Regions from separate parts of the Homo sapiens genome. Here regions 1 and 3 are each linked to region 2. Evidence: promoter capture Hi-C in 16 types of primary human blood cells and fetal thymus (Javierre and others, 2016). All regions are on one chromosome and are shown on one strand. The core of a region is centred on a gene start or on the middle of the fragment in contact, and the rest is flanking DNA. Distances in the headings are between cores, read along the strand shown.

Region 1 (2,930 bases), core at 232-2,731, 210 kb before region 2:
GCCTCACACATTCTACCCTAGTCCTGGCCCTGCCTCTGCCCATATTCACGCAAAAGACAGAAGAGTAGTTGGAACACTAAAGGAAGCACAATCCAGCAACAGACAGCAGCTATAAAAGGAATAGAAGGGCCAGTGAAAACCAAAGAGCTGCTGTGGCCATCTGTTAGTTATGGATAGAAAAAAGGCTGGTTTGGAAGCAATCACTGAAGATCTTGAGAGCTAAAGAGTTTGATTTTATCCTCTAAATTTCGCCTACAAAGGACCATATAGTAAATGGTAAGTTTCTTCAAAAAAGGTACATTTCTTCTATAAAGGGCCATATGGTAAATACTTTAGATTTTACAGGCTATTTGGTCACTGTCACAACTACTAAACCCAGCTCTTATAGCACACACCAAGCAGCCATAGTCAATACCGAATGAATGCGCATGGCTTGATTCCAAAAAAACTTTATTTGTAAATCTAACTGCAGGCCAGATTTGGTCCTGGTCCACATGACGTAGTTTGCCAACCCCTGCTCTAGGCTGATGTAAACAGTCAAAAATAAAAATAGCAAACCTTTATTGAACACTCTGAGTGTCAGATCCTGTTCATAAGCACTTTATGTATTTTATTTCATTTAATCTTCATTTATATGAAGTAGATACTATATCAAGGCCCAGAGAGGTTAAGTAACTTGTCCAGAGTCCCAAAGCTAGTAAGGTGCAGATATGAAATCTGAACGTGGGCAGCCTAATTGCAGAGTCCACTTTTAATCGCAATGTGAGGCTATCTGTACAGCATGCTACTTGAGGGCACTGTTGAATCAGAACTTCTTGGCTACCTTAAGCCATGATATCAAGGAACTAAAGCTCTACCCCTGCTGGTTTCACCCTTTACTGGAGCTACATTTGGGCCTAGATTGATTCCACTGTGTTTTCATGAATTACCTATACACAGATCTTAAAGCCCCTCTCCACTTGTGAATTTCCATTTATCCATCAAGACGTGCCCCATTACATCCCTTACGAAATAAGCCTCCCCTGATAAGTCCTTCAATGAGTCATATGCTGCCTTCAACAGCAGCTCACACCTACTTCTAACTCAGCATTTACCATATTTTATTTACTAAAAAGAATGTTACATAACTCACATACCTGCTAGATTTTGGAGACTCCTAATGAGCAAAACATCTTGTACATCTATGTTCATCACAGTAAAATAGGCACTCAAACATTGGTTAAAATAATTTAACCAATTAAATTTTTCTTTACAACCTGAATCACTGCTAGGTAGGTACAGAGAACTACTAAGTAAATACTCATCATCAGCTCAGACTCCACTGCCTCCACACATTTCCAGTGTGATGCAGCAGGTGACACCTTATGACTACTCACCTTCTAAAACTGCAGGAGCCTCCACCGGCTCAAGAGAATCCAGCCTGAATCAACATCAAAGATAGAAGGTAAGAAAACCATGCTGATGGCATTGTTGCTGTCAGCTGTCTTCTGTTGCACAACCAAGTAGCAAGCATTAGGTCTCTATGACAGAGCTAAAGATAGGACACACATGGTGGTGAAGTTAAAAATGGGATCATAAAGAAGGAAATAGGCTGAGTGTGGTGGCTCACGCCTGTAATCCCAGCACTTTGGGAGGCCAAGGCGGGCAGGTCACTTGAGGCCAGGAGTTCAAGACCAGCCTGGCCAACATGGTGAAACCCCGTCTCTACTAAACATATAAAATTTAGCCAGGTGTGATGGCAGGCACCTGCAGTCTCAGCTACTCAGGAGGCTGAGGCAGGAGAATCGCTCCCAGGAGGTGGAGGTTGTAGTGAGCCAAGATTGTGCCACTGCACTTTAAGCTGGGTGACAGAGTGAGAACCTGTCTCAAAAAAAAAAAAAAGAAAAAGAAAAGAAAGGCAACTCAATACTATGTTTAAAATATTAGGACATGGGAAAGGAACTAACAGATCAGGAGACTGTGTGGGTTTTTTTTTTTAATTTAAAAAAAGAGTAATTACACCAGGCACGGTGGCTCATGCCTGTAATCCCAGCACTTTGGGAGGCCGAGGCAGGAGGACCGCTTGAGGCCACGAGTTCGAGACCAGCCTGGAAAATATGGCGAGACCCCCGTCTCTATAAAAAATTTTAAAAATTAGCCAGGTGTGGTGACCTATAACAGTAGTCCCAGCTACCCAGGAGGCTGGGGTGGGAGGATGGCTTGAGCCCACAAGGTCAAGGTCAAGACAGCAGTGAGCAGTGATCACGCCACTGCATTCCAGCCTGGGTAGCAGAGAAAGACCTTGTCTCAAAAACAAAACAAAACAAACTATAAACATAAGTACAAAAGGGGTGCTTGGATGGAAATTCAGCTTCGTGCTCAGAAGAGAAAGACTGAGGCAGGGCCCTGAGGGCTGGCTAAAATGTCAATAGGCAAAAAGCAGAGGTGAAACAGTAACCAGAAAACTTCCTCAAACACATAAATGGGAATATACAGCACCCTAGGGATCGGGGGTAGTGAACACTGCAAGATAACACCAAGGTTTTGTGCCTGAGGACTGTCAGTGATGGCAGCATTAACAAAAGTGAAAGACTGGAGGAAGGAAAATAATGTAATTTTATATATACTGAGTTTGAGGTGACAGCAAGACAGGGTTTGGGCATTAACCTCAAGCTCTGAAAAAAGTTCACAGCCAGAGAGATGTTTGAGAAACAGCTGAAAAGGGAAGAATGAATTCCATTATCCCAACTTCAATCAATTCACTCATCTATTCAACAAATATTTATTGAGCACCTACTATGTACTAGGCACGGGGGGAAAGGAGGTTACAATTTTAGATAAGACCAGCCCCCATGGATCTTATATTTTAGCAGCAGCAAACATGCTATAAATAAATGTATAATTTCAAGTTGCAATTTTTTTAAAAACTACAAAGAAAAAGCAGAGTAAGG
Region 2 (2,704 bases), core at 66-2,565:
TTTTGGACAGCTATTGAATGGTAGGCACCATTCCATGTGCTGGAGAGATGGCAGAGAACAAAATGGAGAGAAATTCCTGCTATCACTGAGAGCTTACATGCTCTCATCTAAGTCTTAATCGGGCCCAACTCTGCTTAGCTTCCGAGATCAGAAGAGATTGGACGCATTCAGGGTGGTATAGCTGTAGACTCAGGTTACTTTCTAATGAGAGACGGACAATAAACACAAATAAGTAAAATACCATCTATAGTATGTTAGATGGTGATCAGGGTTAAGGAGAATAATAAACCAGGGAAGGGTTTAGGAAGTTACAGTGTAGCAGGGACGTGCAATTTTAGATAGGAAGGCCTGGGAAGCTCATTAAGAAGGTAAGATTTAGGCCGGGTGTGGTGGCTCATGCCTGTAATCCCAGCACTTTGGGAGGCAGAGGAGTTGGATTGTTTGAGGTCAGGAGTTTGAGACCAACCTGGCTAAAATGGCGAAACCCCATCTCTACTGAAAATACAAAAATTAGCCGGGCATGGTGGCAAGCGCCTGTAATCCCAGCTACTCGGGAGGCTAAAGCAGGAGAATCGCTTGAACCTAGGCACTCCAGCCTGGGCGACAGAGTGAGACTCTAAATAAATAAATAAATAAATAAATAAATAAATAAATAAATAAATGAAGGTGAGATATGGCCGGGCGCCATGGCTCACACCTGTAATCTCAGCACTTTGGGAGACCAAGGCGGGTGGATCATGAGGTCAGGAGATTGAGACCATCCTGGCTAACAAGGTGAAAGCCCATCTCTACTAAAAATACAAAAAATTAGCTGGGTGTGGTGGCGGGCACCTGTAGTCCCAGCTGCTCGGGAGGCTGAGGCAGGAGAATGGCGTGAACCTGGGAGGCGGAGCTTGCAGCGAGCTGAGATTGTGCCACTGCACTCCAGCCTGGGCGACAGAGCGTGACTCCTTCTCAAAAAAAAAGGTGAGATGTGAGTAAAGATCTAAGGGAGGAGAGATCCATCACACTAGATATTTGTACCTGCAGTGTTTTTGGCATTCTATTAATGTTATTAGTAGTTATTAATGTTTTGGCATTTACATATAAAGAAGGCCATACAGACTGAACATTAACAGAGCTGCCATTTGGGTCTTTGAGGTGATTACTCACCTAATGTGATTAAGCCCCCGCCGAAAGTGCATGGTTTTTTCTAAGGTGGTTGTTTCCTTCGAGAGTGCAAGGACTCAGTGAGTCACCACTTCGTTGTTTGGCCTTGTCAATGTTGCCTTCCTACACTGATTCTCTTCCCGCTACCAGTTTTGATTGTTCTGAGCAGACAGCAATAAAGAGATGATTCTAGAAAAATTCTCATGATTGCCTCAGAATGAAATTCTTGTTTCCCTTAGCAACAACCTGATTTGCTAACCTATTACCATAGAAATAGAATGCAAAATATATAAGCAATGTAATGTTACCTTTTATTTTTTAAAACCCTCTCTTCTACTATTCCTGGACATTACATAGATGATTCTCTGTCCTTCTAGGCTGAACCAGTCTCTTGTTTCTTTTCAGCTTTCTTTCAAAACTGCCATTTCAATTTCTATCTTTATCTCGTAAGAATAGAAAGGGGAGATAGAAAAACAAAGCAGCAATTACCCACAGAGATGGTTTTACTTAAATAACACTGCTCTTTTTACAATTCCTTTTCATTTTACTATCACCATTTTGTTTAACAGGAGTCAGCTTCTATATCTAATCTTCTATATCTAATACATAATCTTTTAAATCTGTATCTAATACGTAATCTTTTAAAAAATAGTCTTCTGATGCCTTAGATTCCTAGGGGAAATTAAAACTTTAGCAGCCTCATCAAGGTTTATGTATTCTTCACTCTTCTATATAAGCATACCTGTTGTAGAGCTGGACCTGGTGGTGTGCACCTGAGTCCCAGCTATTTGGGAGGATCACTTGAGCCCAGGACTTTGAGTCCAGCCTGGGTAACATAGCAGGACTCCATCTCTTTAAAAAAAAAAACTGCTGAGTATGATGGCTCCCACCTGTACTCCCAGTGGTTGGGAGGCCGAGGCAGCAGGATCAGTTGAGGCCAGGAGTTCAAGGCCAGCCTGGGCAACATAGCAAGACCCCATCTCTACAAAAAATAGAAAAAATTAGCTGGACATAGTGCTGTACACCTGAAGTCCCAGCTGTTGAGGAGGCTGAAGTGGGAGGATTGCTTGAACCTAGGAGTTCAAGGCTGCAATGAGCTATGATGGCACCACTGCACTCCGGCCTAGGCGACAGAGCAAAACACTCTTTAAAAAAAAAAAAAGATTTAAATATATCTATTGGAAAAATGCTTTCACCCAAGAATAAACCAATAATGACTCTAAATGTTTTGTTTTGGGATCTAGTTCTTTTCTAAAAAAGTTCTCATCACATTTTTCTATAACTTGATTAATTAGTTAAGCAAATAATTACTGAGCATCTACTACAAGCTACATGCTAAAACTGGGGATAGAGTAATTAAGGATGAAGTCCCAAGTCTCGAAGAGCTCAAGTGTCCAGACGAGGATGACAGAGGTAGCCGTAAGATCTTGAAGGGCATTGTCTTGGTCCATCCAGGCCGCTATAACAAAATGCCTTAGGCTGGGTAATTTATACCCAATAGAAATGCTTTGCTCACAGTTCCAGAGGCTGAGAAATCCAAGATCAAGGCACCAGC
Region 3 (2,709 bases), core at 102-2,601, 150 kb before region 2:
TAAGTAACCTTCCAGGAGTATTACGGTTAAATTTATAACATCCTCACCTGTGGCTCATTTGGTGCCCATTTGTGAAATCTTTAAGAAGATTAAACCTTAATAGCAGCCAGGTGCAGTGGCTCATGCCTATAATCCCAGCACTTTGGGAGGCAGAAGCTGGTGGATCGCTTGAGCACAAGAGTTCAAGACTAGAATGGGCAACGTGGTGAGACCTCTTCTTTACAAAAAATATAAAAATTTGCTGGTTGTGGTGGTACACACCTGTAGTCCCAGCTACTCAGGAGGCTGAGGTGGGAGGATCACTTTGAGCCAGAGAGGCAGAGGCTGCAGTGAGCCATAATTGCGCCACTGCACTCCAGCCTGGGTGACAGCAATGTCCTGTCTCAAAAATAAATAAATAAATAAAAAATAAAAGACAACCCCAAAACCATAATAGCATACAAGTGACACTCTTCTACTTTAGACGAATCGTGTATACACTTGGAACTAAAATTAAGATATTGATGTATCTCCTTGGTTTACCTGAAGAGACATTTTCACTGCTGGGTGAAATATACATAAGTAATGAGAAAGTACAGCCTCACAATTTCCAAGCTTCATAGAACTCAGGACTCTCCACTTAGTGTAGGTTTTATTAACGAAATAGGTTTTTATCATGTTAAATAATGAACACTCTTCTTGATGGATAATCTCTTGATTATTCAGGATTGGATCTTCTTATCATTACCTGTTTGCAGGCAAGTTAACTTCTAATTTGAAGTAGCCCAAGAAGGGCCAGATCTCATCTTCAAGTGATCCCAGAAGGGAATGCATTGTACACACAAAAGCTGTTGCCACCGTGTTGTGACATCGCTTGAGAATTTTCAAGCAAAATTGCACTGTGGTATTTGTATATTGCCATGCCTTAGTTTTCCCAGGCCACAACTATTTAATAGGCTTGTATGTTCCTCTAAAAACATCATTAGACACATTGGACTAAGTTTGCAGGAGTGGATGTATGAAGCAATCATGATTTTTCTGTTTTCACACTGTATGTTCTTTGGGTTATTCTCCATGGTTTATTATCAGGGGAGTTAGGTGCATGTTACCCAAAGAGTTCTGTGCCAGAGGATATGCCACATTTAATATGAGGAGGTTTTCTGAGAGCATAGAAGAAGAAAAAGGCTATGACAGGAGAATTCGAGACTCTCATCTGCTTTCAGTTTTCAGTTACCTGGTCTACGTGCCGAAAGCCTAATTTGAGACCTGGACTAGGTTACAAGCTTCTAATGACTTAATATTTAGTCTATGAGAATTATTTTTTCAAGACTTGTCATTGTCCCATTTAGCCACAGCAAAAAGTATTACCCAACTTTTGAGCCATAATCTATACCTAATATGTGGTCACCAGGTAAATTTCTTCCTGAATCCAGCACATTGCCTAGTTGCTTATAAGCTTGACCTTAGCATTCTTTTTCTTTTAAGGTATGAATAATCTTGGAACTATTTATCCTTCTATTTTTATTCTCTAAGATCTGAATTTTTTTTTAATTCATATTTCTGTTAGCAGCCCTATCTATTCCCTCTTGAAATGACCTCTGAAGGCTGTTAAATAAATTTTGATTTGCTTTAAGGATTCAGTATTCAAATCATGCTTGATTCTTTGGGAGATATAAAGAAAGCTGTTGCTCCATAGGTCTTGCATCATACGTGATATGACTAAGAAGGAACAACTGAAAAAGTCAAGTCCAATTTACACAATAATGAAAAACCTTTTGTTAGAAACATCTGACAAACAAGGAGCAGTTTCTGGTTTTTTAAAGAATCATTAGAATATAGTTCCATGTCTCTTTTTCTGTCTTGTTAACCCTGCACCTCTAGTACCTAATGGAGTGCTTGGCACTTGATACAGATTGATTGATTGAATGAATATCACACTTTCCCCCCAGTGGTGTTTTAGTTATTGGTTTTGATGTCTGCTTTTTCTGCTTAAGTGTGAGTTAATGACAAAGATCACATTTTATGGTTCTTGACATGCCCCAGGTCTTCTGTATCAGTGTGTGACCTGTAGATGACACTTAATGATGTTTGTAGAATACAATTCAATGATGTCATCCCTTTCCTGGAGCGGCTCACAGTCTGGTAAGGGAGACCAGCCTATGAACGTATTATATATATTGTGCTAATTGTTTGTTGTTGTTGTTTTTTAAAAAATTTGAGACTGAGTCACTCTGTCACCCAGGCTGGAGTGCAGTGGTGCGATCACAGCTCACTGCAGCCGTAACCTCCTTGGGCTCAGGCGATCCTCCCACTTCAGCCTTCTGAGTAGCTGGGATCACAGGTGTGTGCCACCATGCTGGCTAATTTTTTAATTCTTTTTTTGTAGAGATGGGGTTTTGCCATGTTGCCTAGGCTGGTGCTAATTGTTATACTAGAGGTTTATGTAAGGTTCTTTGAGAGCACAAATCATGGAGGATTCTTCAGGAGGAGAAGGAAGTGTGGAGGAGGTTGGCTAAGACATTGGACAGGAGGTGACATTTGAACTGGGTTTTGAAGGATAATGATGAAAGCTAACATTTATTGAGCACTTAACATGTGCCAGGCATTTTATAATAAATCATGGAAAAAATGAGTCTCTCCATAAGGAAGGGGTAGGATAAAGAGAAGGCCTATGATAGAACTAAGGAAACACTGGCATTTAAAGATGGACGGCGGGGCATGGTGACTCAT

Evidence for each region. The method cuts DNA at HindIII sites, captures the fragments that hold promoters and counts their contacts. A CHiCAGO score of 5 or more calls a contact.
Region 1: a contact is called between a fragment that was not itself captured here and the fragment with the promoter of MAP3K5-AS1 in region 2, in 4 of 17 cell types (non-activated CD4 T cells, naive CD4 T cells, activated CD4 T cells and 1 more). The highest score is 5.9, in non-activated CD4 T cells.
Region 3: a contact is called between a fragment that was not itself captured here and the fragment with the promoter of MAP3K5-AS1 in region 2, in 8 of 17 cell types (total CD8 T cells, naive CD4 T cells, naive CD8 T cells and 5 more). The highest score is 7.0, in total CD8 T cells.

What each region holds. Positions count from the first base shown.
Region 1 is chr6:136,840,954-136,843,883 of GRCh38, reverse strand. The region is part of intron 3 of PEX7 (peroxisomal biogenesis factor 7); the gene reads right to left. Among named protein-coding and RNA genes, the nearest start is that of PEX7, 20 kb to the right of the region's middle. The HindIII fragment of the contact is 3,230 bases long and covers 1-2,930 here.
Region 2 is chr6:136,627,725-136,630,428 of GRCh38, reverse strand. MAP3K5-AS1 (MAP3K5 antisense RNA 1) reads right to left here and starts at 1,315. Exons shown (of 3, transcript NR_125858.1): 1 at 1,153-1,315. The region is part of intron 14 of MAP3K5 (mitogen-activated protein kinase kinase kinase 5); the gene reads left to right. It also overlaps the pseudogene RNA5SP219. The HindIII fragment of the contact is 14,560 bases long and covers 1-2,704 here.
Region 3 is chr6:136,773,940-136,776,648 of GRCh38, reverse strand. All of the region lies in intron 1 of MAP3K5 (mitogen-activated protein kinase kinase kinase 5), which reads left to right. Among named protein-coding and RNA genes, the nearest start is that of MAP3K5-AS2, 8.8 kb to the left of the region's middle. The HindIII fragment of the contact is 173 bases long and covers 1,265-1,437 here.